3 separate regions of the Homo sapiens genome follow, and all the other regions are linked to region 1. Evidence: promoter capture Hi-C in 16 types of primary human blood cells and fetal thymus (Javierre and others, 2016). All regions are on one chromosome and are shown on one strand. The core of a region is centred on a gene start or on the middle of the fragment in contact, and the rest is flanking DNA. Distances in the headings are between cores, read along the strand shown.

Region 1 (2,700 bases), core at 94-2,593:
CTATTGAAGGCTACTGATCTATCTGTGTAGACAGGCAAGAATAAAACAACTGGAGAAGAAATCCAGGATTACACAAAAAGAAGAGCGTGATGGTATGGTAGACTACTCCAGAACAGTGAATTTCCCCTGCATTAAGGATGAGATCCCTATGAATTGGGATCATTCAGGAAGTCTTCTTGGAGAAGAAAAGTTTGAGCATATGGGGAAAAAAAGTTGGATTGGCAAAGAGCTGAGCTGTCAGTAGCTGGGTCCTTAGTAAGTAGGCTGCATGGAGCTGGGAGTTATGCTAAAGGAGTTGTAATTTGGGATGCCTCTAATTAACCATTTTGGGAAAAATATAATAAATCCCTTTGTAGCATCTATAATAAACTGCCCAATATCTATGTGGTGGGGAAAAAGTTTTATTCTACGTTTCACGTGGATGGTGATAACACTAGGTAATCTCAGCATCTTTCTTATTCTCTTGCTAATCCAGGATTCTAAGTAATAATCACTTTGTTCTACAACCTGAATCTAGCCCTTGTACTGTGCAGTTTTTTTCTACACTTATTTTTCCTGTTGTCTGAATCAATCTCCATGGAAGCATAAGTTTTACTGAGTTTCAACCAGCTGTGTCCACCGAGGTAAAGATGGTAAAAATAAAAGGCACAGGGCATATATACCACAGCAGCAGTTACTTCCCACAAGGAACCAGAGATTGGAAGTGAAGCTAAAACATTTTCAGCTACGATAGCATCTCTTTCAAGGTGAGCCATTTCCCCAGGGAGAGTTTCCAGCTCTTAGCAAAGGCAGAACAATAAAACATCAAGGATGTCTTTCTAAGGCTGCAAACAGAATAGCCAATACCTTGAAGCTGATCTGCTTCAGAGTCCTTTAAAAGCCAGGACAGCAACAAAGTGCCCACATTACATTTTCTACAAGCTTGCTAAGCATCTCTTTTCCTAAACCACAAAACCCGAGACATTTCTACAGAACAGGCAGAAAGGGAAGTCCTGGGAGATCAGGGCCCTGTCTCAGCAGGCATCACTCCAGCCTGTCTTTTCCCGAGTGGTTTTCTGCACTTCTCTTCCATCTTTTCCCCTCTGTCCCACACTGGAAGTCACTAGTCTGTGCCCTCCTTACCTCCCATGGTTTCTGCACCTTCATTTCCAAAGGCAAGTGAAAACAGTGCCAGGCTGCGCACATGGGTTACTCCAGGGACTTCTCTTCCCGTTTCCCCTAAAGCATTTGACAGTTAGATCTTGGAACTGAGTCCAGCAGCACTGAGGTCAGAGAGATGGCTAAAGCTAAAAGCAAACTGGATGCTGTTCAGGAGGTTCTCCTTTGTCATTTTTATCTCCAAATAGAAGACCTCTGTTTTCCCAGAAGATTAAATAGTAGAAAAGAAGTAGCCCAAGGTGGGTGACTCTGCAAACAGGTGGGTGAGGTCTCTAGTTGAGTGAGGGGGTGTCTGTGGGTTGTGGGTTCTTCTTATGAGCAGAGCTTGGAGGAATTTGTTCTATTTGTTGTGGTTTTCCCAGGGGGAAGTCGGGGGTGGCTGGGACTCTAATGATCATTATCAGAAGACTTTGGATTAGGCCTCTGAAACTTTAAGATGTGGATCCTCTCGCAATCATGTTAAAATGCAGATCTCCTTTCAATAGGTCTGGGACAGAGCCTGGCTTTTCTATAAAGCTTCTGGTGATGGGATGTCGCTGGTTCTCAGCCACAATTTGAGTAGCAAGAGGTTAGCTTTTCTACTTACTGCCTTCATATCCCCAGTTGGGCTATGTCGTTTTATCAAAACAATGTGGTAAGAGTGAGCGCCAATTACTAGCCTGTTGAATCATCCATTGTTAGAGCTGTTTCTTTGAGGTACATTTAAGAGGCCCCTCCCTGTGGTTCCCCATTGCACAAGAAGCCCATTTGCCAGGCAATACCTTGGGCAAGCAAGCCACTGTGCAAAATTGCATTGGCTCTTCCTGCTGCCAGCCAGGCGGCTGCTGGTTGACGTTGGAGTTGTACAGTTTATGTGATAGTGATGACAGCGCTGGCTCTGAAGGGTACTGAAGATTTTGAAGGGGTACTTCGCTGCAGCAGCTTCACCTCTCACTTTTGTTTACCCACCCCCGAGGCTTGTGGGAGAGAAGGATCAGGCAGAGCTCTGCACGTGCCATGCCAGGGGTGGAGGAATTATATTTTTATTTTTTGCTTTCTCTGCTACAGGACATACCATGCCTTTTACAGATATTTATAGGACAATTTCCCTCCTGAGAGTGCCCAAGCATGGGGGATGGTGAGGAAGATGACTGAAGGAGAAAGCAGGAAAAGGGGGTGTCTGCATGTATGAGGATTGGAAGGTGGGGAAAACCCTTCGTGTTTGGTTCAGCCTTCAAGAAAGAGGAGGGGTTGACTAGATTACAGATGTTAAACCAGGGGTCTGTGGTTCAAACCAGCAACTCTCTGCCCTTGTAAGCTGTATCTGGCTGGTGTGTTAATTTGTCTAGGGTAAGAGCCCCTAGGTTTCAACAGATTGTCCTAGAGTCAATGATACACAAAAGGTTAATCAGCCTCATTTCCAATCAGGATCATCTGCAAGTCCCTCCCAGAGCAGATATTTGGAGCACTAGGCTTCTAGAAGCAGCAGACATCAAGTTCGGGCCATGGGATTAGGGTGGACAGGGCAGCCACTTGGAATCATTTTCTACCAGAGGCAGAAGA
Region 2 (2,700 bases), core at 181-2,680, 77 kb after region 1:
CCAGGACCAGGGCTGGGTCTAGCATGCAGGGCTTCTGAAAACCATGTCCAGCATTCTTTCAGTAGGAAGAATATATGTAGCGTCACACACATACTCTAAAGTAAGTGATCTTTTTCTATACTTTTATGGAATTATATTTTTAATACACTGGCACTTTGGGGATACTTACTCTAAATGATGAACATACCAATTGTTTCTATAACCCTGGAGCCAAATTTAGGCAGATTTCTAATGGAGTCTGGTTCCCCAGGGTTCTGTCCTTGACTCACACTGTTCCATTTAAGAGACTCCTATTGGGTGATCTCATTCAGTCTCGTGGTCTCAACTAATAGCTATGTCCTGATGACTTCCAAATATTTAATTCAGCCCATCCTCTTTACTGAGCTTCAGACTCCTATGCCCCTATCCATGGAGCATCTCCACTGGAGTATACCTCAGGCACCTGTCATACAACCTTTCTAAAACTTCTTCCTCTTTTGCCTAGACTTCTTCCTAGGCACATGATCTCTCCTAGCTAATGGCACTGCCATCCACTCAACCTTCTAGCTAAACACCTGGAAATGATTTCCGGTTTCTTTTTTACCCTGAATCCACCCAAATACTAAGTCCTATCAGCTTTACTTGCTATTATCTCTTATGCCTTTCTCATCAGCCCTACCATCACTGTCTTAGTTCAGGTCCTCATTATCTTGTTACTTGGAACTCTGCAACTGCCTCAAAATGAACCTCTCCCTTGCAACCTGGCTGCTGCTTACCATGGGTATGTCCACACATGCCATGCCCCCCACCCGCACGTAAAAGTAAAATATAAATCCACTCATGTCATAAGACCTGCTGAGAATTCTTCAAAGGTTACCTGCTCCATAAAGCCCAGACTCCCTGGCATGGAATTTGTGTCTGACACTGCAAGTTTTCTATCAAATAATGATTCTTTCCCTTCTTAATAATGGAATGCTGATTTTTAGCTGGAACATGGCCACTTGTAATACTGTATTTCTTGGCTTTCACTGGAGCTAGACTCAGCCATATGATCAAGTTCTGGCCAATTCCATGGTAAGTACTGTGTGGAATTCCAGGAGGCCCCTTAAAGGGAGCTGACTCAGTTTGGAGGAATGCCCTCTAGCCCTTCTTACTACATGGAATTGGAATAGAGAGATGATTCCTAGATCTTCAGCAACCATTTAGACAAGGACGTGACCCTGTCTACAGCAGAACAGAAAGCACAGAAATCTGGGTTGCAAATGACTCCACGGAGCTTCCATGGCGGGGCTGGACTACCTACCTCCAGGCTTTTCATGTGAGAGAGCACTATGTTTCCATCTGGCTTAAGCCACTGTCATTTTTATGTTTCCTGTGATAGGCAATGGAGCAAAGTCCTAAGTGACCCAGAATTCAAACATCTCAAGAACAGTAAGTGCTTAATACTTCATTTCTGCAGCCTCCTCTAGCCTTCCCTCTTCCCATGCCTCCAACTTCAGGCTCCAGTGCTACCAAAGTTCCTGTCATTTTCCACTTTAACTACACATTCACCACACTTCTCTGCTTTGCTCAAACTTGCTCCCCTACCTAAACACCCTCCTTATCTTTGTTCAGCTTTTAACTCTTCACACTCAGCTCAGGCATCACCTCCTCCAGGAAGTTTGCCTGAACATCCATCTTAGGGCAAGTGGCCATTCTGTCTGCTCCCAAGATACCCTGGGAAAACTCCAATTTTGGAACCCAGCTGCCATGACTTATTAATGGCTATCTCTCTCACCCCACAGAAAGCGCCTCAAAGGGCAGACATCTCATCTACTCATCTTGTATCTACACCTCCTAATGCAACATCCGGCACTAGGTGGCAGCTCAGGAAATATGTTCTGATCTCAACTGGATTTTTCTCACTGCAATGGAGTAAACAGGGTTGAATGCCTCAAAATGTCTTGGTTTGCTCTTCATGCCAGCTGTAAGTTGAAGACTGAAACAAAATTTTCTAGCCATATTTTTGTTTTCCTGGAGATGGAAAGCAAACAGCAGATGAGTCATCCGAAGAGAATATCCACTATGAGAAACAATTTTTGGACGTTTCACACCTGAAGTCCCTCATCTGTAAAAGATAACTTGGCCCTTAGCAACGTTTGAGGTCTCCTCTGGCTCTAATATTTTATAAACCCATTGTTGAGTATAAATGCACAGACCTGGACACAGAGAACTCACTGTGAATAGATGGCTCCTCCAGGGATTGGCAACATGACCGGCCTTACCTAACCTTCAAATAAATTATTTACAAGGAGTGTTTAATAAAATCTTGAAGTCATCAGCTGACTGAACACTGTAGGATAATAAAATGCCAAGTGAAGTAAGATACGCTTCCTAGACTCCAGCCAGGCTGGCCTGCTCTAAAAACCCCTGACCTTGCCACACTCCTTCCTGTTACTGGGCATCTATCTGCGTTTGCTGTTTCTTCTGTCTCAAATGTTCCTTCCTTCCCTCTTTACCGTGACCTCAGCCCAAGAGTCACTTCCTTATAAAAATCTTCCATCTTTCCCTAACTGGATAGAATCACCCTATTCTAGGTTCTCATTCACTGCATTGTATTTCTCCTCTTCATAGCACTAGTCATGGTTGCTACTTTTTATTGGTATAATCATTTGATTGACATCTTTCTCCCTCACTGGATCATACCCTCCACTGGCGAGTATTTTTGTTTTTGCTCATACC
Region 3 (2,700 bases), core at 157-2,656, 120 kb after region 1:
TGTATATCATCTTAAGATCTTTCAAGACATGTGGAAGGTTTTAGGATTAACTACATAAAGAGAGGTGACATGTCAGTAAATAGCATCATACCTTAAAACAAATCTAGCTTTCATCAGATTCAATTCTCAGGAGAACCAAATTGAAAGTGCCCAGAGAACTGGTCTTTTTATATGAGGGGATCTCAAAACCATCCTTCACACAGAAATACTTTATTTTTTGAGGTATTTGGTTTTTTCCTGGTTAGCTTGGTAAAGGCTTATCAATTAATCCTTTCAAAGAATCAGCATTTGATTTCATGGATTTTCTCTGTTGTTTTCCTATTTTCAACTTCACTGATTTCTGTTCTAATTGTATTATTTCTTTTCTTATGCTCGCTTGAGGCTTAAATTTATCTTCCTTCTCTAGTTTCCTAAGGTGGAAATTTCGAATCTTGGTTTTAGATCTTTCTACTTTCCTACTGTATGCATTTAATGATATATACATTCCCATCTGAGCACTGCTTTTGCTGGATCACACATATTTTTATAAGTTATATTTTCATTTTCACTTGACTCTAAATATTTTTTATGTTCTCTTGAGTCTTCTTCTTTGACCCATGTGTTACTTAGAATGTGACATTTAACCTTCCAATATTTGGGGATTTTCCAGCTATCTTACAGTAATTGATTTCTAGTTTAATTCCATTGTGGTCTAAGAAGATACCGTTTATGGTTTCTCTTCTTTTAAATTTGGTAAGGTATGTTTTATGGCCCAGAATGTGGTCTATGTTGGTAAATGTCCCCTGTGAGCCCGAGAAGAATGTGAAAACTGCTGTTGTTGGATGAAGTATTCTATAAACGTCAATTTCACCTAGTTGTGATAATGCTGTTTAGATCACCTATATCCCTACTGATTCCCTGCCTGCTGGATCTATCAATTACTGAGATATTGAAGTCTCCAACTATAGAAGTGGATTTGTTCATTTTTCCTTGTGATTCTATCAGTTTGTCCCATGTATTTTGATTCCTGTTGCTAGGTACATACATACATGTTAAAAATTGTTATGTACTACTACACTGGTCTTTAAATAAAACAAAACAAATAAAAATGTTAAGTCTTCTTGGAAAACTGACCCCTTTATTGTTGTCCCCTCTTTATTCCTGATAATTTTCCTTTTTCTGAAGTCTGCTCTGTCTGAAATACCTATGCCAGTTTGCTTTTGATCAGTGTTAGAATGGCATACCTCTCTCCAACCAGGCATTTGGTTTTATATGCCTTAGGGAGACATCACCAAAGTGGTGTCTGCATGTCTCCTAACTAATAGTCTTCCCTGCTCTTTACATAGCAGGTGACCCACTGAAAATCAGGCCATCAAATATCCAGGCACTATAGGACAAAGAGAAAAAGAAATAAAATAACAATAGAGATGTATCTTAAATCCCATGTTTTAAACTCAAAACCATAATCTTGTTTATCCAGAGCTTCTCAACTTATCTTGGTGTGCATAAGATGGGCTACCATGGACTGCAGGGCATATTCCTGTGCTCACAGGCCCATGCCACAAAGTGACAGCGATTCTGGCTTGTGAACTGTCTTCTCACTTGGGACTGAGATTAACAGCATACAGGTCAATTATTGCTGTCATATTGATTATATATTTGTTTTTTCCTAACTTTGAAAGTTCAATGGAATTGTTCATACATAGTAAAGTCAAAATTAGATCCAAGAGTATGTCTTATTCAGTCCATCCAAGGGAAGTAATGTTTTACCTCACATCTTCCAGAAGAGAAGGTGAGATTTTCTTATCCACACATAGGCTACTGCTCTAGGATATGTGGTGCTATTTTATCAATCATCCACATAGTGAAACAGGTACCATGTGTATAAACTATGTGATGATACTCATGTCAAAGGTTAAGGGGGAACCCAAATGACAGGCAAGCCTGATGGGCCTGGCTAAACCACCTGACTGAGGGCTCTTCTTCCATTCCTGCCATTGTATTTCTTTCCAATTATGCTAGAAACACTAGTAAATTGGTTTCATCTTAGATTGTGAAAACTAAATATAACATGTAGTAACTTACAAGATCACTGACAGCTTAACTTTGAACATTTCTCACTTTTTTTTTTTTTTTTTGAAATCATAACATTTCAAAAAACAACTTGGATAATAGCTTATGTTCCCTGGACGGGGAAAAAGAGAAAACAGCAGTGTGCTACTTTTCATCCCTATCTATTATCAATAGGATTGTAAAAAACAAAAGTTTATCTTCAAAATTTAAGAGTATGCTCACAAAATCACATTACCTTTTAGTACTCTCATGTTACTGCAGAGACAAGACTTTAAACAATGAAAATTTATTAGGTATCCTGGCTTTAGAAATAAAAACGTCCCCTTTACATTGTCTAAAATATGGCCAAGATCTCACCAAACTAAAGAGTTGTATCTACACAGGGGTTTCCTTTGACCTACAGAGAGTTATTTATCACAATATTAAGGGAAGATACCCTGTTTTCTCTTGGTATAATCATTTCTTTTAACATAGGAACAAAATGAAACATGGTTTTAAAAATGTTTCCTTACCTTGGCACTGATAACCCTGTTTCCCAAACACTCCCCTGTTGAAGAGAAGAAAACTACCATCAGTCAAGTATTTCAGCAATAACCCTCTTATAGTCCTTAAGGAAAACAAATTTCATCCTCTCCTCCTTTATGAAAA

The links. Contacts are between HindIII fragments. The CHiCAGO score rates a contact against its expected background, and 5 or more counts as called.
Region 2: a fragment that was not itself captured here is called in contact with the fragment with the promoter of LINC03033 in region 1 in 7 of 17 cell types (neutrophils, monocytes, activated CD4 T cells and 4 more); the score reaches 17.5 in neutrophils.
Region 3: a contact is called between a fragment that was not itself captured here and the fragment with the promoter of LINC03033 in region 1, in 2 of 17 cell types (activated CD4 T cells and neutrophils). The highest score is 8.1, in activated CD4 T cells.

Annotation. Positions count from the first base shown.
Region 1 is chr14:61,569,183-61,571,882 of GRCh38, reverse strand. It overlaps LINC03033 (long intergenic non-protein coding RNA 3033), which reads right to left and starts at 1,343. Exons shown (of 3, transcript NR_039985.1): 1 at 1,123-1,343. It overlaps LINC01303 (long intergenic non-protein coding RNA 1303), which reads left to right and starts at 1,230. Exons shown (of 5, transcript NR_110416.1): 1 at 1,230-1,397; 2 at 2,206-2,339. RefSeq lists a silencer at 2,053-2,245 and an enhancer at 2,637-2,700. The HindIII fragment of the contact is 753 bases long and covers 924-1,676 here.
Region 2 is chr14:61,491,808-61,494,507 of GRCh38, reverse strand. The region is part of intron 10 of PRKCH (protein kinase C eta); the gene reads right to left. Among named protein-coding and RNA genes, the nearest start is that of PRKCH-AS2, 52 kb to the left of the region's middle. The HindIII fragment of the contact is 5,736 bases long and covers 1-2,700 here.
Region 3 is chr14:61,445,591-61,448,290 of GRCh38, reverse strand. It overlaps PRKCH (protein kinase C eta), which reads right to left. Exons shown (of 14, transcript NM_006255.5): 4 at 2,565-2,599. Among named protein-coding and RNA genes, the nearest start is that of PRKCH-AS2, 99 kb to the left of the region's middle. The HindIII fragment of the contact is 6,096 bases long and covers 1-2,700 here.